Linked DNA regions of Homo sapiens: all the other regions are linked to region 1. Evidence: promoter capture Hi-C in 16 types of primary human blood cells and fetal thymus (Javierre and others, 2016). All regions are on one chromosome and are shown on one strand. Each heading gives the region's core, a stretch centred on a gene start or on the middle of the fragment in contact. The rest is flanking DNA. Distances are from core to core; before and after follow the strand shown. Region 1 holds the start of FIP1L1 (factor interacting with PAPOLA and CPSF1). Region 2 overlaps CHIC2 (cysteine rich hydrophobic domain 2). Region 3 has its middle 8.7 kb from the start of GSX2. Region 4 has its middle 10 kb from the start of GSX2. Region 5 overlaps PDGFRA (platelet derived growth factor receptor alpha). Region 6 has its middle 4.9 kb from the start of CHIC2. Region 7 has its middle 42 kb from the start of GSX2.

What was found. Contacts are between HindIII fragments. The CHiCAGO score rates a contact against its expected background, and 5 or more counts as called.
Region 2: a contact is called between a fragment that was not itself captured here and the fragment with the promoter of FIP1L1 in region 1, in 1 of 17 cell types (fetal thymus). The highest score is 5.6, in fetal thymus.
Region 3: a fragment that was not itself captured here is called in contact with the fragment with the promoter of FIP1L1 in region 1 in 5 of 17 cell types (total CD8 T cells, naive CD4 T cells, total B cells and 2 more); the score reaches 7.1 in total CD8 T cells.
Region 4: a fragment that was not itself captured here is called in contact with the fragment with the promoter of FIP1L1 in region 1 in 3 of 17 cell types (total CD8 T cells, non-activated CD4 T cells and total CD4 T cells); the score reaches 7.1 in total CD8 T cells.
Region 5: a fragment that was not itself captured here is called in contact with the fragment with the promoter of FIP1L1 in region 1 in 1 of 17 cell types (M1 macrophages); the score reaches 6.2 in M1 macrophages.
Region 6: a fragment that was not itself captured here is called in contact with the fragment with the promoter of FIP1L1 in region 1 in 11 of 17 cell types (non-activated CD4 T cells, total CD8 T cells, naive CD4 T cells and 8 more); the score reaches 15.7 in non-activated CD4 T cells.
Region 7: a contact is called between a fragment that was not itself captured here and the fragment with the promoter of FIP1L1 in region 1, in 1 of 17 cell types (fetal thymus). The highest score is 7.1, in fetal thymus.

Annotation. Positions count from the first base shown.
Region 1 is chr4:53,376,239-53,379,372 of GRCh38, reverse strand. It overlaps FIP1L1 (factor interacting with PAPOLA and CPSF1), which reads right to left and starts at 1,732. Exons shown (of 18, transcript NM_030917.4): 1 at 1,450-1,732; 2 at 256-300; 3 at 109-148. The coding sequence starts at 1,534. LOC105377654 (a long non-coding RNA gene) reads left to right here and starts at 1,633. Exons shown (of 3, transcript XR_007058118.1): 1 at 1,633-1,714. RefSeq lists a silencer at 1,155-1,244 and enhancers at 917-1,465, 1,405-1,524, 1,575-1,664, 1,466-2,014. The HindIII fragment of the contact is 4,469 bases long and covers 399-3,134 here.
Region 2 is chr4:54,047,069-54,050,368 of GRCh38, reverse strand. CHIC2 (cysteine rich hydrophobic domain 2) reads left to right here. Exons shown (of 6, transcript NM_012110.4): 2 at 1,064-1,118; 3 at 1,259-1,414. Among named protein-coding and RNA genes, the nearest start is that of CHIC2, 16 kb to the left of the region's middle. The HindIII fragment of the contact is 6,225 bases long and covers 1-3,300 here.
Region 3 is chr4:54,107,365-54,110,349 of GRCh38, reverse strand. No RefSeq gene overlaps it. Among named protein-coding and RNA genes, the nearest start is that of GSX2, 8.7 kb to the right of the region's middle. The HindIII fragment of the contact is 1,078 bases long and covers 811-1,888 here.
Region 4 is chr4:54,088,356-54,091,285 of GRCh38, reverse strand. It overlaps a transcript of CHIC2 not described here and the pseudogene MORF4L2P1. Among named protein-coding and RNA genes, the nearest start is that of GSX2, 10 kb to the left of the region's middle. The HindIII fragment of the contact is 7,418 bases long and covers 1-2,930 here.
Region 5 is chr4:54,274,699-54,277,699 of GRCh38, reverse strand. It overlaps PDGFRA (platelet derived growth factor receptor alpha), which reads right to left. Exons shown (of 23, transcript NM_006206.6): 12 at 2,727-2,859; 13 at 208-312. Among named protein-coding and RNA genes, the nearest start is that of PDGFRA, 47 kb to the right of the region's middle. The HindIII fragment of the contact is 998 bases long and covers 1,192-2,189 here.
Region 6 is chr4:54,067,931-54,071,148 of GRCh38, reverse strand. It overlaps a transcript of CHIC2 not described here. Among named protein-coding and RNA genes, the nearest start is that of CHIC2, 4.9 kb to the right of the region's middle. The HindIII fragment of the contact is 3,398 bases long and covers 1-3,218 here.
Region 7 is chr4:54,140,804-54,143,838 of GRCh38, reverse strand. No RefSeq gene overlaps it. Among named protein-coding and RNA genes, the nearest start is that of GSX2, 42 kb to the right of the region's middle. RefSeq lists a silencer at 1,729-1,947. The HindIII fragment of the contact is 7,651 bases long and covers 1-3,035 here.

The sequences.
Region 1 (3,134 bases), core at 483-2,982:
TCAGTGTTGTAATGAAGCCAATGATTGTAAGAAAATAATTTTGACAACTGACAGAACCATTGTTTCACACAACCTGTGTAATAGGCATCAACAGAAAATTTCACTAACCTGGCATTTTCTTCTTCTGGCCTTTCAACTTCATTTTCATCTACCAAGTAAAATAAACAAATAAATAAATAAGCAAACAAAATAAAGAAACCACTCTTAAAGAAACTAGTATTATGAAAATCTGAAGTGATCATCACAAGCACTAACCTAGGTCCTTTGCCAAATCACTGTGCACATGCACGTCCCATGGGCCTATAAGCACATCCAAAGTTAGATCACCTTATAATTACTTAACAAGATACTTATTTTATGGAAAAAAAAATCAGACTTTACTGCTATAAAAATAAGCTTAAATTTAAGAGGTAATGAAGATTTCCAGATCTTTGTAAAAGAAATCCTACACATTCACATTTCAAAGAGTAGTAACTAATGCTAAATCTTGCCACCAAACGATTTTTTTTTACAAGTTTATCAAAGTCACATCATCAAGGACCTGCATGGTGCCCAAAGTGCACTTTTACTATTCTATTCTAAAGACAATCAAGAATATATGTTTTAGGCAAGGAACAAACATTAACTTTCAAATCTGGTGTTAACAAGCAAGAAGGGATTGTGACTTAAAGTTAAAAACCAGATGTCAAACAAGTACCCTTCTAGAGAGAAGTACATGATGCATTAAATTTATTTTGAGAAAAACAAATACATGAGATGACACTGAAAACTATAAGCCGAAGGGTCATGAGATACCTCCATGATGTAGGTTAAACGGTAGTCTCTTAAAAAAGAATAACTTCACCTTAATACAGGAGACATTCAGAGTTTTCTTTATGGGCCATCTTTCTCTCTCTCTCTCTTAATTAATTATTTTTAAAGCACGACTTTCAGACAAGGAGGTACCCTTGCAGGTGCATTCCATACAAACTGACCATCAAGAAACAAGACGTTAGTTGTACAGCATTAACTTTATTTAGCTATTATTACAGAATGACTGTTTCTGAAAGAAGGGACAGGAAGGGCACCCTAAGGCCACAGGGCAAAAACAGACACCAAAAACCACCACCTCAGAATCGACAGAAAAAAACAAGGGTAAAGAGCGCAGCAGCTAGGCGATCGAGACGCCTCGGGGAAAGCACAGCGAAGCCGGGGGCCAGGACCGGTCACAGCCCCCCAGCCCGGCCCGGCCGCCACAGGGGTGGATGCGCATGGTGGGCGTGGGCCAGGCGGGAGACCGCCGCGGGGACTGGGGGCACGCGCACGCCGCGCTCGGCCTAAGTCAGGCCGGACAGGACTCCCAACCAGAGGCCCGAAGCGGCGGCGCGAGAGGCCAGGGACGCCGGCCGTTTGAGGGCCAAGAGGGGAGGCCTGAGAGAACCCGAGAGACAGAGACAGGAAGTTTCGTACCGCCATAGAGCCACTCTTCCTCCTCATCCCCTCCGGTCCCGCCGCTCAGCTCCGACACTAGGCGCTCGACCTCGCCGGCCGACATGGCCGCCCCGAGCGCAACTTAAACGCGGCGATCAACAGCCCCCTCCAACCCCTTCCCCAGCCTCGCAGCCCCGAGGCGCGAGAAGGGCGCGAACCCGCCGACGAACGAACGAAGAAAGCTCGAGACTCCAATCCCAGGAAGGCGACGGCAGCGGCGGCAAAGATGAAGCCTCCAGCGCAGGTCCGTCTGCGCATGCGCAGGAGACCCAAGCGGCGCGGCGCGTATAGGTGGCTTCGCTTCCGCGGCGGCCACCTGGGCCTGGTTGCGCCTGCGCGCTGAGGTGGGCCCCGCCCCTCTAGGATCCCGGTTTGCTATTTTGCGTGGCTTCCTCCCGTGGCGTCCTGAGTCGGCCAGGGTTCCCCGCCCCCACCCTTCTTTTTAATAACCCGTATTGCCATTGCTGGCGAGTACACCATTGTTCCCTTCTACTCTTCGTGCTCTTTCTTCTCAACTTTTTATTTGTTTTTTAATCTTCAGAAAGGCCTTCTTTTATTCTTTAATCAGCCTTGATACAGAATCATTACCTGTCACTCCCTTTCCTCACTGAATAGAGAAGAAATCACAATCAGTACTATTTCTCAAAAAATTAATTTTCACAGCCAACAAAAGCAAAACTAATAGATGAAGAATGCACTCTCCTTGTTAAAAACCATAAATTACTGTCAAGGTCAAAGACCGCCTCATTCCCCTACCCTTCTCTCCGGAGGTAGCCCTTGCTACAGATGCATATCCTGTTTGGAGTTCATCATTCCGAAATTTCCTATACACTTACTTCATGTGTTGTGCTGTTTTGGTGGGAGAACCTGAGATTGACAAGTCTTAAATAGTACAGTACAGTATAGTATCATCCTTCGACTTCCTTTTTTTTCTTTTTTTTTAGCATCCGTGTCTTGGAGCTCTTTTTCATTTTAGTATGAATCAAACTATATCTATTTTAAGTGCTTCATAAAATTGCATAGTATGGCTATCACAGAGTGAATATGGCTATTTCTCCATTGATGTACACCCAGATTGCTTTTGACTTTACACTTTTAACTACAACAAAAAATGACAATGAAGATCCACACGGCTCCTTGCAGATTTGTCTGTTTCTCAAAGATAGATCATAAAGTATGTACAGTTTTTATTTTAATAGGTAAACCAAATGTTCAGGCCGCTTCTGAAAGCACATCTTCCAGTGAAAAGATGACATACCATGGTTCAAACTGGAGCTCTAGGTTTGTCTAGGTTTTTTGTTTGTTTGTTTATTTATTTGAGGCGGAGTCTCACTCTGTTGCCCAGCTGGAGTACAGTGGTGCGATCTCTGCTCACTGCAACCTCCACCTCCTGGGCTCAAGCGATTCTTCTGCCTCAGCCTCCCAAGTAGCTGGGATTACAGGCACGCACCACCATGCCCAGCCAATTTTTGTATTTATAGTAGAGAGGGGGTTTCACCATTTTGGCCAGGCTGGTTTTGAACTCCTGACCTCAGGTGATCTGCCCACCTTGGTGTCCCAAAGTGCTGGGCTTACAGGCATGAGCCACCACGCCCGGCCTGTTTTTTTGTTTTGTTTTGTTTTGTTTTGTTTTGTTTTGTTTTGTTTAAAAAACAGTCTTACTC
Region 2 (3,300 bases), core at 569-3,068, 670 kb before region 1:
AGGAATGTAGAGATAGTGAAATGGATGTATGTGGGATATGAGTAAAACAAGCCTGTTTCAAGATTCCATTTAGATTTAGGTGTAAAGTTGGAGTCCCCCCTTCAAAACTTTACAGTGTATTACATGAACTTTCAAAATTATCTCAAATTATATAAAAGTAAAATTGGTCTCGTGTGTGATTTCTTAAGGAAACAAAGGAAGCTGTAAAAGCCATAAAAGCCTGCACTGAAGTGTTGCATGGAATGTGCTCAGTAGTTGTGATTTGAATGAATTCTCTGTTCTCCAAGTACTGGTAGACTTCTGATAGATAAAAGCAAGATAGGTTGTTTTTATTATGTCTTTTATCTTCTTGTTATATTTACCATTCTTTGAAAATAGTTTAAATCTTTTATCAATTCTAAAGCCATGGAATATTTTAACCATGATTCAAGAAAAGGTCTTTTAGGTAATAGGAATAGATATAGGTATAGTACACGTCTACATTTTCTTTCATACCATCTAATGCACTGACAAATAGGTGTTCAATGGAACCTAAGACGGTTCTTGGTAGCACTTTGTCCATTCCTACTTTTTTATTTTTTCTCTCCCTTTTTCCTTATTCTTCCCCTCCTCACTCTTTTTCCTGCATTTTTCCTTCTCATCTTATTGCTTGTGTAGGACACCTGCTAAAATTCACAGGTATTGTTTGTTTCCACCAATAACATTAAAAGCTGGAAAAAATCGCTATCCCACCCATTAAAATAATATGCTTTGTAGTTACTTTTTAAGATATAAAGTTGGTAGCTCAAATTAAATGAACCATTTATATTTTTGTTTACATACTGCTGGTTAATTAACATTCAGCCCCTTATCATTATGCAAAAGTTTCCATTTAACTGCTAAAATAATTGTTACATTTCATAAATTGCTTGTTACAGTTATTTTATCTCAAACTTCCATTTTATGTCTAAAACTTCCTCCATATGTGAAAATGCTTTCTATTGACTTGACCTTTAAATTAAATGGTCTACATTTTTGGCAACAATAACATGTAATAACATATTCTTCTTATTTTTTAAAATAGATTTGGACTGAGCAACAAATTTGAATCTGAATTCCCTTCTTCATTAACTGGAAAAGTGAGTGTCTCATTTATGTACTATTTGTATGCCTCAAAATGAAAGTTTTTTTCTGAGAAAATTAGAAAAAAGTATGCTCATCAGTCATGTTTTTTGACATTAATATTGCATTGTTATTATTTCTTAAAATTTTTCTTTAGGTAGCTCCTGAAGAATTTAAAGCCAGCATCAACAGAGTTAACAGTTGTCTTAAGAAGAACCTTCCTGTTAATGTACGTTGGCTACTTTGTGGCTGCCTTTGTTGCTGCTGCACATTAGGTTGCAGTATGTGGCCAGTTATTTGCCTCAGTAAAAGAGTAAGTTGAATTATATATTTTAATTTAAATTTAGAAGTGGACAAGCAAGTCTTGCATTTATCTAGTTTTTATTTTTTGTATTGAATGAATCACACTATCCTGAATAAAATATGAAAATAATCTGATCCAGGAGAGGAGTGAGTCAGTAAAGTTACTATATATCCAAGTGCTGTTATTAAATAGCCATCTAAAAATTATATTTATAATTTTAGAAGCAAGGAGTAGTGTATGGCATTGTCTGTATCTGTACATTGACAGTGGTGTGGTATAGTGATCAAGGATGCTGGCTTCAGCTCTACCACTTTTCTCTGTGACCTTAGGCACGTTTCCTAACCTCTTTAAACCCTACTTGACACAACTGTAAAATGTTCACCTACTACTTGAATATAAAGGTAAAATGAAAATGTTTGGAAAACTCTTAGCTGAATATCTCAAAGGAAGTGGTTAATAAGTATTAATTAATAGTATTCTTACTGACTGTAAGATGGTACCCATACAAGAAATAAAATGGTTACAATGGTTGTTTCTTGTTGGTAAGATTATGGGACATTCTTTTCTGCTTTTTATATTTTACAAGTTTCCTGTAGTGAGCACAAAGTGATTCTGTAATCAGAAAAAATAATTTCAAAGACTCATTATTTTGACTGCTTATAATAAAAAATTCTGGCCAGGCACAGTGGCTCATGCCTGCAATTTTAACACTTTGGGAGGCCAAGGCGGGCGGATCACTTGAGGTCAGAAGTTCAAGACCAGTCTGGCGTACATGGTAAAACCCTGTCTCTACTAAAAATACAAAAAATTAGCCAGGCGTGGTGGCGGGTGCCTGTAATCCCAGTTAGTCAGGAGGCTGAGGCAGGAGAATCGCTTGAACCTGGAGGGCGAAGGTTGCAGTGAGCTGAGATCGTGCCATTGCACTCCAGCCTGGGCAACAATAGTGAAACTCTGTCTCAACAAACAAATAAACAAAATTTTAAGATGTTGGTAGAGATATGACAAATTATTATAGATTGAATGTATTATATTCTTGTTAAAATTTTCAAAAATTGTATTTATATGTATAAAAATGATACTTTAAAAAAATTTTTTTAAATAAATAAATTTTATTTTTTAAAAATGTATTTAAAAAAATAGAGACAGGGTTTCTTTTTTTTAATTATTATACGTTAAATTCTAGGGTACATGTGCACAACGTGCAGGTTAGTTACATATGTATACATGTGCCATGTTGGTGTGCTGCACCCATTAACTCGTCATTTAACATTAGGTATATCTCCTAATGCTATCCCTCCCCCCTCCCCCCACCCCACAACAGTCCCCGGTGTGTGGTGTTCCCCTTCCTGTGTCCATGTGTTCTCATTGTTCAATTCCCACCTATGAGTGAGAATATGCGGTGTTTGGTTTTTTGTCCTTGCGATAGTTTGCTGAGAATGATGGTTTCCAGCTTCATCCATGTCCTTACAAAGGACATGAACTCATCCTTTTTTATGGCTGCATAGTATTCCATGGTGTATATGTGCCACATTTTCTTAATCCAGTCTACCATTGTTGGACATTTGGGTTGGTTCCAAGTCTTTGCTATTGTGAATAGTGCTGCAATAACCATACGTGTGCATGTGTCTTTATAGCAGCATGATTTATAATCCTTTGGGTATATACCCAGTAATGGGATTGCTGGGTCAAATGGTATTTCAAGTTCTAGATCCCTGAGGAATCGCCACACTGACTTCCACAATGGTTGAACTGGTTTATAGTCCCACCAACAGTGTAAAAGTGTTCCTATTTCTCCACATCCTCTCCAGCACCTGTTGTTTCCTGACTTTTTAATGATCGCCATTCTAACTGGTGTGAGATGGTATCTCTTTGTGGTTTTGATTTGCATTTCTCTG
Region 3 (2,985 bases), core at 100-2,599, 730 kb before region 1:
GTTATTTGCAGTGCCACTTATTCACCAAATGCAAATGGAAGCCAGAGGCAAGCGCCTGCCAGTGACGCAGTTGATAAAGGAACTAATACTGTCCACAAAGGTCAGTGTCCGAGGGCACCCAGCAGGGCAGAAGAGGGCGAAATGGATCCAGATGGAAAACGCAGGATAATCAGCAGAGTTGTTTTTAAGGGCCCTTTATTTATTCAGAGGCAAAATTTTCTTTCCCTTTAGACTCTACAAATGAACAATCGGGAAGCGAACCTCAACTGTGGGGTGAGTGGCGCTTGGAGAAAATTGGAGCTGAGTGGATAATCCGGCTATGCCCTTCCCACGTCTCTTTCCCACGCAGCGTCACCGTCGTGCTCTCCAGTGCACACCACCAGCCATCCCTGCCCTGGCGCCCGGACGAAGCTCACGGGCTGGGGAGCCTCTTTCCTGCGCCGGTGATCAAGGGCGTCCCAGCCCACTGAGGGCCAGGAGGCGAGGCTTGGGCACACGTCCCTTCCCGCCCGGACGCTGGTGCCCGCGAGGTCCTCTTGGCCCTGCTGGGAGCGCAGGGGTCGCGGCAACCATTCAGAACCCCGGCTGCCAGACAAGCGAGGCTTTCCACGTGGGCAGAGGCGACGTTGTTCAGGTGGCAAGGATCCAAGGCTGAGCCTTCCTCCCTCTGCGTCCACCCACCGCCCCTCCCCACCCCCGACCTAGAAAAGGACACGCACACAAAAAACTTTCGCCACACTATTAATATATTCGCGTTTCCTCCCACTTTCCCAATGGGCTACCAGCTGCAGAACTCCTGAATAGAAAGCTTAATTGTGCTTTGTCATGCAGAGTACCTCGATTTTCTATAGAAGGTTACAAAGGGCCATTTGAAGTATTTCTTTCTCGCCTAATAGTGAACCATTTGCATACGGCACCTCTGCGCCTGCCAGACCCAGGTAGCTGTGCCGAAGCTCCGGGGGCCCCGGAGTAACAAAACCCAGGGCGGTTTCCAAAGGGCGCCCTACCCCGCCTCTCGCCCAGCGTTTGGACTTTTCTCTCCAATTCCCTCGGGTCACGGCCCGCCCTAGGCAGCTGATTTGGAGGACGCGAAATATGGCCTGCAGGCCGCGGGTGCCCAGCCGGTCCGTCTGATATCTTGGAGGCCTCGGGCCATCCAGGCCCTTCTAGCCTGGACCCGAGCCTTTTTTAGGCCGGGTCTACCGAACCCAGGTGGTGTTTTTCATCTACTATCTGCAGGTCCAGAGACCAGGCCTTTGCCCACGCGGGGTCCTCCACCCACTTGCTTCTCACGTAAGGCCCAAGTGAGGCGCTGAAGAACTGGAAGGTGATTATGATTTCGATACCACGCTGTTCGTTTCTCCTGGTTGATTGACAGGGCTGCGTTCAGAATATCTTTTCTTGTTGCTTGTTTTGACAGTTCAAATCCAGGTCTGTGTGACATATAAAGCTAATAAAATTCTAATTTCATTGTTAATCTTATTTCATTGCAGTATAGGTTTTTACCCTCACACCTGCATGGCAGGGTGTAATTCCATTAATAAAAAAAATCAACATATTCATTGCATGTCTTTTCCCTGATGATATATTGTGAGCAGTGTGAGTTGAGAAAGAGCCATTTATTCCCACCGTGAATGAGCCTGCATGGGGCGGGAGCTTCACCTGCCCCTCAGTCAATTAGGAATGTATCGAAAAGTCTAGCAGAAAACGAGTTAAATTAACCGTTGGCTAATTTCCTTATGTCCCTCCTACATAATCCCCCCTTTTCAGCTTGCCCCAGAAATTACCACATGTTGCAAGGTTCAAATAGTGCCTAATGAAACAGTGACTAAACGCTTCTCCCTCCGGCGCCACCGACGGGGGAGCCCTTTCGCCGGCCTTCAAAGCTTGCAGGATTTCGTGGTTCTGGTTCCCGTATCCAAGAAAAAAAAAAAGAAAAAAAGAGAAGAAAAGAAAGAGAAAGAAATTTTTGACAAGCAGAAAAAAGAAAATCTAAGCTGTCAATAACTCTCGATCCAGCGAGTGAAACTACATTAATGCCCACCCACTTCCTGCCACCGATGATGCAGTGGGATTCCGAGATGCCTGTGCCCGCAGTAGATACCCAAGTAGGAATGGCAGCTTTAGCATCCTCCTCTTTCCCCGGAGAGCTAGGAGGATTGAGCCATGGCCAGGGGAGACTGGATGGGGAAAACGGCCAGGAGAACAAAGGGTGGGGGTGGGGGCGGATATCAAGGCAGAAGGAGATGGAGACAAGACAGAGAAATGCAGACAGAGAAAGATCACTGGGGAAGCAGATGCAAAGGCAAAAAAAAAAAAAAAAAAAAAAAAAGACAGAGTGACAGCAAACACACCTCTAAAGTCTCAACTCCCTTATCCCAAGTTAAAACTACATGTATGGCTTAAGCAACTCATCAGCCTCTAGCCAAAGGCATTTTGAAGCCTTGACATTCAAAATCCTAATAATTAATCATTCTTATTAATTAATTAAGGAGGAAAGGAGGAAGGTGGCTGGCTGCTGCTTGACCCCAAACAATCTAAATTAGGGTTTGTGAAGGAAGTCTCCAAAAGCATGCACTCCCTCTCCTTCGTATTCTTTCTTTTTCACACTCTCAAAAATTTCCATTATAATCCTTCAAGGTCTGGGGCAGGCAGAGCTTCTCACCCTGCTCCATCCCTTCGCAGCAAACTGAGACCAAGCTGGCTTCTGCTCCTTGGAGCCGGCTGCCACTCATAGGCAGGGAGCTCTTTCCCATCGGGAGCAACTCCCACCTGCCTTTTTTTCTCTGCACCTGCTGTGGGTGGTTTCTCCTTGAACTTCAGAAACCAAGTAGTTGCCTAGAATTACTTTCGCCACAGTGCTCACAGGCTAAATATTACTACATTCTCTCTCTCTCTCTCTCTCTCTCTCTCTCTCTCTCTCTCTCTCTCTTGTCTTCTCTCTCCTCTCTCCCCTTGCCTCCCTCTCACTAGAGACTTGAGTCC
Region 4 (2,930 bases), core at 133-2,632, 710 kb before region 1:
TCTGCTGGTCCTGGAGCCTGGCGTGGGCTGAGGCTTGAAACTGGCGTCACTCAGCGAGCCAGAAAGGAGTGGGCGGGAGTGTCTGGGGGGTGCGCTGTCTCCCCATGTAGAAGCCTGGACACTCTAAGCAGGAGGGGCTCTGGCAGTATTGCCTCGAGGTCCTCCCTTTCACCTGCCCCCAGTATTGTTCACCCACCTGTGGATCATCTTTATGTTCATGTACTCAGGGAGCACCCATGGTGTGCCTATAGTATGCCAGGCTCTACTTGGGCTTGGGAAACCGTGAGAACAAGATAGCTTAGATCTCATTTGTTTTGGAACTTCCACTGGGCCTTTTATTAATGTGTAACCAGCTTGCAAAATGCCAGTCATACACAAGTTTTGTCGCCTCTGTCCTCAAGCAGAGGGGCATGGAGATTATGAGACAAACACTGATCGTAATAAGACGATGCATTGAAATCAGTGCAAATCCATTTCATCTCCAACCCAACCTCACCCTTTCACTGCACCACTGAGTTTGGGATTGGGTTTAGGAGGTCCTGGATGTGAATCCACCTTCTCTCTGACCATGGAAATAATAATGACCCTCTTCTCACAGGATGGTTGTGAGCATTAAGTGAGTTAAGCCTGACATCCCTTGGCACAACGCCTTGCACATACTTAGCACTCAGTATACAAACTATGACGACGTTGATGTGTGATGACGTTCCCTGAGTCTGATGGAATGTTGTGGGGAAAGAGGGAGGATGCGTTTGTGAGCTACAAAATTTAAGGGATTATTTCTGGATTTAGGTTAAATTAGGCCGGTTGTGGTGGCTCATGTCAATAATCCTAGCACTTTGGCAGGCCGAGGCAGGCAGATTACTTGAGGCTAGAAGTTCGAGACCAGCCTGGCCAATATAGTGAAACCCCATCTCTACTAAAAATACAAAAATTAGCCAGCGTGGTGGTACACGCCTGTAGCCGCAGCTACTTGGGAGGCTGAGACAGGAGAATTCTTGAACCTGAGAGGTGGAGGTTGCAGTGAGCCGAGATTGCACCACTGCACTTCAGCCTGGGCCATAGAGCAAAACTTCATCTAAAAAATATATATATATAAAATAAAATAATTAAATTGTGTATAATTTATACAGATTGAGTATCCTTCATTAGAAATGCTTGGGACCAGATGTGTCTGAAGATTTTGGATTTTTTATGGTTTTGGAACATTTGCATGTATATAATGAGATATCTTGGAAGAGGACCCTAGTCTAAACACAAAATTCATTTATATTTCACATACAGCTTATTCAGTGTACATAGCCTAAAAGTTTTTTATACAATATTTTAAATGATTTTTTGCATGAAGCAATATGTTTTAAGTACTTCTGTGTGGAATTTTCCACTTGTGATGTCATGTTGGTGCTCAATAAGTTGCAAATTTTCAATATTCAGCCTGTATTACATTCTCCTCTAGCATCAGGCTAGTGTTATAGTATCAGATACTCCATCTTCATCCTTTACTATGACTTCTTTTCTTCCACCAATGTTATCAAAAGTACTGTTACCAAGGGAAATAAAAATGCAGCAAGAACCTATAGGAGCTGAATATTCTTTTAGGCAGCTTTGGAAGCATTTTTAGTCCTGTTAAAATGGAAGGGAATATTTTCACAGTGGCACAAAATGAATGCTGTAATTTAACCTTGTGAGCAAAATTTCTGATTAAATACAACATAGGAAATATGTTTCCTGATTAGCCATGTACCTCCCTGGAACAAGGTATTGTATAAACAATTGCAAGACATACTTATTTTTATTTTAGAGAAGCTGACTTATTAAAAACATTTTTTGATATTTTGATCAAATATTTTGATCACTATATATGTGTGTGTATATATATATATATATATATATGGAATGTGGTGGTGGGATCATAGCTCACTGTAGCCTTGAACTCCTAGGCTCAAGCTGATCACAATATAATTTTGTTTAAAACCAAAATTTTTAAAGATTGGATTTCATTATTGAGATGTTTTCCCAAGGAAAAAAAATCAAAAAGAAGGCTTGAAAGATTGGAGAACCGATTGCAGATCTAGGTTCTTGAATTTAACAGCAAGAAAGGAATTCTGTCCTTATGTAACTGACCTATCTCATGTTATAAGTAGGGAGACTGAGGTCTCAAGGGATGAAATGGTCTTAGTGGTCAGTCTCTCCTACAGTCACCAAATAGGACCATATCAGCTTTGTTCCTCTACCTACAGTTTTATACACTTGCAGGAAGATGCCCTGGAAACTAGGAGAAGAGAAGGTACAGGAGTTCCAGGTTCCTGCATTACCCTCAGGTCTCTGTTGCTGGCACCTCCATCTTCTGGTGGCTCTTGCCCAAATCCTTTGAATCTTCTGTGACTCCTCTCTTGCTCTTTCTCTAATCCTGTACATTTAACCCATCATGAAGTCCTGAAGGCTTTAACTTCAAATGTAACTGGAAACTGACCACTTCTTAACACTCCAACTACTATCGCACGGGTCCAAGCCATCACCACTGCATAGGGATGACTGGGTTCATTCTTCCTATACTTGCCTCTACAATCTGTTCTCAACAGAGCAGCCAGAAGGATCGTTTTGAAATAGAAGTCTGATCAGGTCAGACCAAGAACAAAAGGCCCTCCATGATGCCACCATGGCTGTCTCTGACCACTCCAACCACTGGCCTACTTGCTCCCTCTGTTTTCCTTGCTGGTCTGGCCCTCTCTAGCCTTCCCCTCTGTTGAGAACTCTTCCCCTACAAGCTCACACGTCTTACTTCCTCACCTTTAGGTCTTTCCTCCAAAGACACTTTCTTACTGTCTTTTTTCTTTTTTGCTTTGAAATTTAGAAACAAATTTTATTTAAGATCTGAAATGTAATTCCTAAAATATCAACTTTTTCAGAAAACTGTGGCTTACACAATA
Region 5 (3,001 bases), core at 441-2,940, 900 kb before region 1:
TAACAAGCTCTTAATTTTCCAACATACAGGCAGCAAGAGCAATCTAAATAAACCTAATCTAAATACACATAAAACCTGGAGTCAAAATAATCAGGACCTAGTCCTAAATGTCTTATTTACTAGCTGCATGATTTTGAGAAATTCCCTTAATATCCCCATGCTCAAAAAATCCCCGTGCTCAAAAAATCCCCAGGAAGGAGCACTTACGTTTTAGCATCTTCACTGCAACTTTCATGACAGGTTGGGACCGGCTTAATCCATAGGCTGTTCCTTCAACCACCTTCCCAAACGCTCCAGACCCCAAGACCCGACCTGTGGGCAGGCAGAATCATTAACACCCAAAAACTCCAGACGCCTCCTCAGCTTTCTGCACCGTAGCCAGCTCTCTGCGGGCGGACAGCTGGGCGAGTGTCTTTCCTGTTTGGAGTAATCATAATGACTCCTCCAAGTCATCGTGTCAAAAAAGGAATTGAGCCCACAGGGAAGGAAATTAGCATAATTGCTTTTGTCGAATAACACTTGCAAGGGAAAGAAAACACAGACGGGAGAAAGGAGGGTGCAGCCCTCCCTGGTGTGAGCGCGCTGTCTACCAGCTCCGTGCTGGGCCAGCCCCTGGGATCCTCTTGCCTTCGGGGCTCTCACCCACACCTCCTGGCTCTCTCCCCTTCTGTTTTCCATATGCAAACAGGGGCATCTTTTGTCTTAGTAAATTACTAGCCACTGGAAATACTTCAGTATTCAAAATATCACTGATTCTAAGGAGTGACTAAATAAAAACTTCAGGCTGGGCTCACTGCTCCCTATTTGTTAGGAAAGCCACTCTACCAAGAGCTAAACATGCCCGAGAGCACAGCAATTAGCTTCATGTTGGGAGGAGACATACGTAAAGACACTGAAGCTGTTGTCCCACCCTGAAAGAGCTCACCCTGAGAGAAACATTTCCCGGGGTGTCAGTCTCACCACGGATAGCCAAGCCAGGAAAAGACTTGGCTCATAAAAGACACTAACAGCCAACACTGCCTCTTACTGCACGTCTGTGTTACTGAAAATCGTACCTGGAAAGGTATTGCTTCACCAGCAATGCCTCTTGGTATAATGGGAATTATGCCCTTTTCCCCATATTTTACTACTTTTTAACTCCCTAAGCTCCTCATCCCTTGTTGGGAAATAGGCAGGAAAATAAAGAAAGCTTAGATATAAATATTTGAAATTGGGGGGCAGCTCTTATAACCGCCCCATGGATTCTCCTTGTCCGCTGCCTAGACAGAGCCGATTTACCAAGACAGGGGAATTGCAATAGAAAAAGGGTTTAATTCACACAGAGCCAGCTGTACGGGAGACCTATTCTACTATTACTACTATTACTCGAATCAGTGTCTCTGAAACTGGGGGAATTTCTACTATTCTGCTATTACTCAAATCAGTGTCTCTGAAACTGGGGGAATGGGGTTTTTAAGGATGATTTGGTGGGTAGGGGGTGAAAAGGGGAGTGCTGATTGGTTGGGTCAAAGATGAAATTATAGGGAGCTGATGCTGTCCTCTTGCACTGAGTCAGTTCCTAGGTAGGGGCCCCAAGATCAGATGAGCCAGTTTATTGACCTGGGTGGTGTCAGCTGGTGCATCGAAATACAGGGTCTCCAAAATATCTCAAGCACTGACCTCAGGTTTTACAACAGTGACCCCTAAACCATACTTTCTAATCTTGTAGCTAATTCGTTAGTCCCGCAAAGGCAGTCTAGTTCCCAGGGAAAAAGAGGGTTTGTTTTGGCAAAGGGCTATTATTGTCTTTTTTTCAAAGTCAAACTATAAACTAAGTTCCTCTCAAAGTTAGTTCGGCCTATGCCCAGGAAGGAACAAGGACAACTTGGAGGCTAAAGCAAAATGGAGTTGGTTAGGTCATATCTCATTCACTGTCATAATTTCCTCAGTTACAATTTTTGCAAAGGTGATTTCACTCTGGTGCCTTGCTTGATTTCAGTTTACCTAACTCTCTAAGAAGACTTAAACTCTTCTGTATTTTGCAATGAGACCGGTGGATAATTAAAACCTGCATTTGGCATTCTTTAACATATATACTGTTAGATCATTCATCATAACACAACCTCTACCTCTACTTTCATTTGCCTTTGTCTTGCTTTCATTCATTAGGAATGTGATTTAAAAAAGAAATACTCCCTTGGACTAAAGCTTCATATACTTGGTCTCAGCCCAGGATTGAAATACTTGAAATGCTTGTGATAAGTTGGCTTGCTTATTTTTACATATTTTGCCTCAAAATGTACCTATATTTTTATATTCCATATTCCAAATATGTAAAAAGGAGTATCTAATGCATCTTCAGAATGTACTGAATCAAAATACATTTTGTGGTTGTCCTCATTCATTTCTCATCTGCTCATTTTTAGTCACAGAAATTCATTTTCAATTTGTGTCATTTCTAAAGAAAAGCAATTTTGGTGGGTATCTTTGCCAGCCCTCTTCATATTCTCTTCTCCCTTTGTAAAATTTTCCTTAACTATAATTTGTTATGGAAAGAGATTTAAAAAAATCATTGCAATGATCCAATTAACTTACTGTCAAGACAGAAATGTATTTCTGAAAGCAAATTTCCATTGCCTAGTTCTTACTAAGCACAAGCTCAGATCTCTATTCTGCCAAGGCCTATAAATTGTAAAGTTGTGTGCAAGGGAAAAGGGAGTCTTGGGAGGTTACCCCATGGAACTTACCAAGCACTAGTCCATCTCTTGGAAACTCCCATCTTGAGTCATAAGGCAGCTGCATCGGGTCCACATAAATATATTCATGTCCATCTGGGCTGATTGATTCAATGACCCTCCAGCGAATTTCATACCTCGGTTTCTATAAATGACCAGGACAGGTAACTGGTGAATTACCAAAGTCCCAGTGCACCAGAGCTTCACTGAAGCAGCACAGTGACTGGACACAGTAGAGTCCAACAACGTTCACTCCACATGTAATTGCTGAGCTCCTTCTCTGTGCC
Region 6 (3,218 bases), core at 373-2,872, 690 kb before region 1:
GGAAGCTCCCAGCCTAGTTTAGATCATCTTCCTTCCCTCTCCTTTAGTGGCCACAGTTGTATGGAAGGCGAAGAGGATCTCTGTTGCTCTCTAAAGGCCTTTTGCATAGTTGTATTGCACATACATCAATCCTAAAGCATTGGAGCAGAAGTGCTATTTTCTATTACTTATACTGCGGGCACCAAAAACTCTAAGGTTGGGGCACAACCTGAACATTTTAGGTCAGATGCCCACTCTTGGAACTGGAGATATGGTCAGCTTAACCTAATCACATGTACTGAGGATGGAGGGGATATGATTTACTAAAAATCCTGAGAGTGTTGTTACAGAATGTGTGCCATTTACAGAATAACAGGCTGGGAAGTGGTGCAGGCAGGCTAGGCTGGACTACTGGTCTCCCACTTGGGGATTTAAAAATACACATCTGGCCAGGCCTGGTGGCTCACTCCTGTAACCTCAGCACTTTGGGAGGCCGAGTTGGGCAGATCACCTGAGGTCAGGAGTTCAAGACCAGCCTGGCCAACACGGTGAAACCCCGTCTCTACTAAAAATACAAAAATCAGCCAGGCGTGCTGGTGCATGCCTGTAATCCCAACTACTCAGGAGGCTGAGGCAGGAGAATCGCTTGAATCCGGGAGGTGGAGGTTGTAGTGAGCCGAGATTGTGCCATTGCACTCCAGCCTGGGCGACAAGAGTAAACTCCGTCTCAAAATAAATAAATAAATAAATACATAAATACATAAATAAATAAATAAATAAATAAATAATAAAAATGCACATCTGATAATGTCACTGCCTGGCTTCACATCCTCCGCTCCTTTACTTTTGGCATGCATTTAAGATTTCTTACAAAGGCCATCAAGTTTCCACCAGCCTCTTTGACCTCAACTCCAATCTGGCTCTGCCTTCCTCACTATGATCCACCCACACTGGCTTTGTTTTTTACCTCATTTGAGCTGTGCTCTTTTCTACTTCAAGGTCTTTAAACATGCTATTCCCACTGTCTGGAGCTTTCTCCTCTCTTCTCTCTACTTCCCTACCTCCATACCTTTGCTTAGCTCATCAGCTTACATGTCATTTTCCCAGAGAATAAATCCTGATTTCTTGGAGTGAGTTAGGTGGGTTTACTACTCCCATGGACCCCTGTGCTTCTCCACAGAACTGATCACAATTCTAATAGTTATTTATTTTTATAATTATCTGTCAGTCCTCCCCAGTGGACTTCATGCTCACAAAGGCAGGGGCTGTGTTTGGTTTACTGCTAAATCCCTAGTTCCTGGCACAGTATGTGACACATGAGAAGCATTCAATGCAAATTTGTTGAATGAATGAATGAGTGAACAAATGAGGGTTTATATGCTTTCTCAAGTCAGCTTGGGCTGTGTGATATCAGGAAATACATATTTGGTTTTTGACCCTGTTTCCTGGCATACAACACCTAAAATGCTTAGAAACTCCAAAGCAATGTCTTTCTGTATTCTAGTGAGTTGACTGTAGGCTGGCAGCTCCTAGTTAGCTTCAGGATGAGAGCTGATCACCAGAAGGGGCTGAAGATTAAGTCAATGGCCAGCGGTGTAATCAATCATGCCTACGTAATGAAGCCCCATAAAACCCTGAAGGAACAGGGTTCTGAGAGCTGCCAGACAGCTGAACACGTGGAGGATTACAGGGAGATGAACAAGAACTCATCCGTGTGCTGGGAAAGCAGAGCACCCCGACTCCGCGGGGACAGAAGCTCCTGCACCCAAGACCCTTCCAGACCTCACCCTCTGTGTCTCTTCATCTGGCTGTTTATTTGTAACCCTTAAAAGATCCTTCTTGGCTGGGTGTGGTGGCTCATGCCTATAATCTCAGTACTTTTTGGAGACCAAGGTGGGTAGATTACTTGAGCCCAGGAGTTGGAGACTAGCCTGGGCAACATGGTGAAACCCCATCTCTACAAAAAATATAAAAATTAGCTGGATGTGGTGGTGCATGCCTGCATTCCCAGCTACTCGGGAAGCTGAAGTGGGAGCATTGCTTGAGCCCAGGGAGGTTGAGGCTGCAGTGAATGGTGATTGTACCTCTGTCTCAATAAATAAATAATAAATAAATAACTATTGGACTGCAGTGAATGGTGATTGTACCTCTGTCTCAATAAATAAGTGAAATGAAATGAAATGAAATATCCTTCTTAATAAACTGGTAAACCTGTTTCCCCGAGTTCTGTGAGCCGCTCTAACAAATTAGTTGAACTTGACGAGGGTGTTGTGGGAACCCCAATTTATAGCTGGTCAGTCAGAAGTTCTGGAGACCTGGACTTGTGACTGGTGTTTGAAGTGGAGGGTGCAGTCTTGCGGACTGAGCCCTCAACCTGTGGGATTTGATGCTATCTCCAGGTAGAGAGTGCTGGAATTGAATTAGGACATACAGCTGGTGCCCACTGCAGAACTGATTGCTTGCTTGTTGGTGGAGAAAACCCCCCAACACATCTGGTCACAGAGAGTCTTCTGTGTTGGTTGTTGTTGTTAAGCAGGAGAATAGGAAAAAGCACATTGAGTGTATTTTCCACACAAATAGGCTGCCACACAAAATACCATAGACTGTGTCTTAGTCCCTTTGGGCTGCTATAATCAAATATCATAAACTATGTGACTTATAAACAAACATTTATTTCTCATAGCTTTGGAAACTTGGAAGTTCAAGATCAAACGGCTGGTAGCTTTGGTTTCTGGTGAGGGGCTTCGTCCTTGTATATGGTTGTCTTCTTGCTGTGTTCTAAGATAGTGGAAGGGGCAAACCAGCTCTCTGGGGCCTCTTTTATGAGGGCACTAATCCCATTCATGAGGGCTCAGCCTTCATAACCTAATCACCTCCCAAAGGCCCTAATATTTCCTAATACCATCACCTTGAGGGCTAGGATATCAACATACAAATTTGGGGGGATGTAAACATTCAGTACATCGTAGCCTGGGTGGCTTAAACAACAGAAATTTAGCTCACAGTTCCTGATGATTTGGTTCCTGGTGAGAGTTCTCTTCCTGGCTTGCAGATGACTGTCTTCTTGCTGTGTCCCCATGGCACAGAGAGATCGAAAACTATCTAGTATTTCTTCTTGTAAGGGCACAAATTCCATCATGAGGGCCCCAGCCTCTTGACCTCATCTCAACCTAATTACCTCCAAAGGCTCCATTTCCAAATACCATTACATTGAGGGTTAGGGCTTCAACATATGAATT
Region 7 (3,035 bases), core at 511-3,010, 760 kb before region 1:
ATTTATTATTTCTTTTCTTCTGCTAATTTTGAGTTTGGTTTGCTCTTGCTTTTGTAGTTCTTTAACACGTACCATTAGGTTATTTATGATTATTAGATTAGTTTTTCTTCTTTTTAAATGTAGATACCTATAATTATAAAATTCCCTCTTAGTACTGCTTTTGCTGTATTCCATAGGTTTTGGTATGTTCTGTTTCCATTATCATTTGTTTCAACAAATTTTTCAATTTCCCTCTTAATTTCTTCATTGACCCACTGGTCATTCAGAAGCATATTGTTTAATTGCTGTGTATTTTTATAGCTTCCAAATCTCTTGTTTTGTTACATTGTGGTCAGAGAAGATGCCTGATGTTATTTCAATTTTTTTGAATTTTTTAAAGCCTTGTTTTGTGATTTAACATATGGTCTATTCTTGAGAATAATCCATGTGCTGAGGAGAAGAATGTGTATTCTGCAGCCTTCAGATGAAATGCTCTGTAAATATCTATTAGGTCCATTTGTTCTATAGTGCAGTTTAAGCCTGATGTTTCCTTGTTGATTTTCTGTCTAGAAGATCTGTCCATTGGTGAAAGTGGGATGTTAAAATCTCCAGCTATTATTGTACTGAGGGCTGTCTTTTTACCTTAAATAATATTTGCTGCTTCATATATCTGGATGCTCCAGTGTTGGGTGCATATATAATTGTTATATCTTCTTGCTAAACTGACTCCTTGATTATTATATAATGACCTTCTTTGTTTCTGCCGCCTATAGAGACAAAGAAGGTTATTATATAATGATGAAAGAGTCCAGTTTTTTGTTGTTGTTGTCATTTTTTGAGATGAAGTCTCACTCTTTCACCCAGGCTGGAGTGCAGTGGCACAATCTTGGCTCACTGCAATCTCTGCCTCTAGGTTCAAGTGATTCCCCTGCCTCAGCCTCCCGAGTAGCTGGGACTACAGGTGCCCACTACCACACTTGGCTAATTTTTGTATTTTTAGTAGAGACAGGGTTTTCACCATGTTGGCCAGGCTGGTCTCCAACTCCTCATATCAAGCGATCCGTCCGTCTCAGCCCCCCAAAGTGCTGGGATTACAGGCGTGAGCCACTGTGCCTGGCCCATTGTATGTTTTTCAATTTGGGGTTACCATGAGGCTTGCAACTACTGTTTCATAACCCATTGTTTCAAACTGATGACAACTTAACACTGATTGCATAAACAAACAAATAAGCAAAAAGAAAACTAATAAAAACTCTTAACTTCATCCTCCTGCTTTTTAACTTTTTGTTGTTTCTCTTCATGTCTTATTGTACTGTCTGTCATGACAAATTGCTGTAGTTATTATTTTTGATTAGTTCATTGCTTAGTCTTTCTGCTTAAGAGTATTTTGAACACCGTAATTAAAGTGTTATAATATTCTATGTCTTTCTGTGTGCTATTACCAGTGAGTTTTGTAGCTTCACGTGACTTCCTATTGCTCATCAATGTCCTTTTCTTTCAGATGTAAGAACTTTCTTTAGCATTTCTTTTTTTTTTTTTGAGATGGAGTCTCACTCTTTTGCCCAGGCTGGAGTGCAGTAGCATGATCTCAGCTCACTGCAACCTCTGCCTCCCATGTTCAAGCAATTATAGTGCCTCAGCCTCCCAAGTAGTTGGGTCTACAGGCATGCGCCACCACACCCAGCTAATTTTTGTATTTTTAGTAGAGACACCTGACCATGTTGGTCAGGCTGGTCTGGAACTCCTGGCCTCAAGCAATCCACCCGCCTCAGCCTCACAAACTGCTGGGATTACACGCATGAGCCACCACGCTTGGCCTCCTTTAGCATTTCTTATAGGACAGGTCTAGTGTTGATGAAAATCCCTTAGCTTTTGTTTGTCTGGGAAGGTCTTTATTTCCCCTTCATGCTTAAAAGATATATTTTGCTGAATATACTATTCTAGGGTTAAAGTTTTTTTTTTCCCTTCAGCATTTAAAATATGTCATGCTAGTTTCTCCTGGCCTATAAGGTTTCCACTGAAAAGTCTGAGGCCAGATGTATTGGAGCTCTATTATATTTTATTTGTTTCTTTTCTGTTGCTGTTTTTAAGATCCTTTCTTTATCTTTGACCTTTGGGAGTTTGATTATTAAATGCCTTGAGGTTGTCTTTTTTGGATTAAATCTGCCTGATGTTCTATAACTTTCTTGTACTTGAATATTGATATCTTTCTCTGGGTTTGGGAAGTTCTTTGTTATTATCCCTTTCAATAAACTTTCTATCCCCATCTCTTCCTCAACCTCCTCTTTTTGGCCAATAGTGCTTAGATTTGCCCTTTTAAGGCTATTTTCTATATCTTGTAGACATGCTTCATTGTTTTTTACTCTTTCTTTTTGTCTCCTCTGACTGTGGATTTTCAAATAGCCTGTCTTCAAGCTCATTAATTCTTTCTTCTGCTTGATCACGTCTGTTATTAAGAGACCCAGATGCATTCTTCAGCATGGCAGTTGTACTTTTCAGCACTAGAATTTCATTTCTTTTTAATAACTTCAATCTCTTTGTTAAATTTGTCTGATAGAATTCTGAATTCCTGGCCAGGCGCAGTGGCTCACACCTGTAATCGCAGCACTTTGGGAGGCTGATCACTTGAGGTCAGGAGTTCAAGACCAGCCTAGCCAAAATGGCAAAACTCCATGTCTACTAAAAACATAAAAATTAGTTGGGTGTGGTGGCACATACCTGTAATTCCAGCTACTTAGGAGGCTGAGGTGGGAAGATCACTTGAACCCAGGAGGCAGAGGTTGCAGTGAGCCAAGATCGTACCACTACACTCCAGCCTGGGCGTTCATCTCAAGAAAAAAAAAAAAGAATTCTGAATTTCTGTTTTGTGTTTCTTGGATTTCTTTGAGTTTCCTCGACACAGCTACTTTGAATTCTCTGTCTGAAAGGTCACATATCTGTTTCTCCAGGATTGGTCCCTGGTTCCTTATTTATTTTGTTTGGTGAGGTCATTTTCTCCTGGATGGTCTTGATGCTTGTAGATGTTCGTTAATGTCTGGGCATTGAAGAGTTAGGCG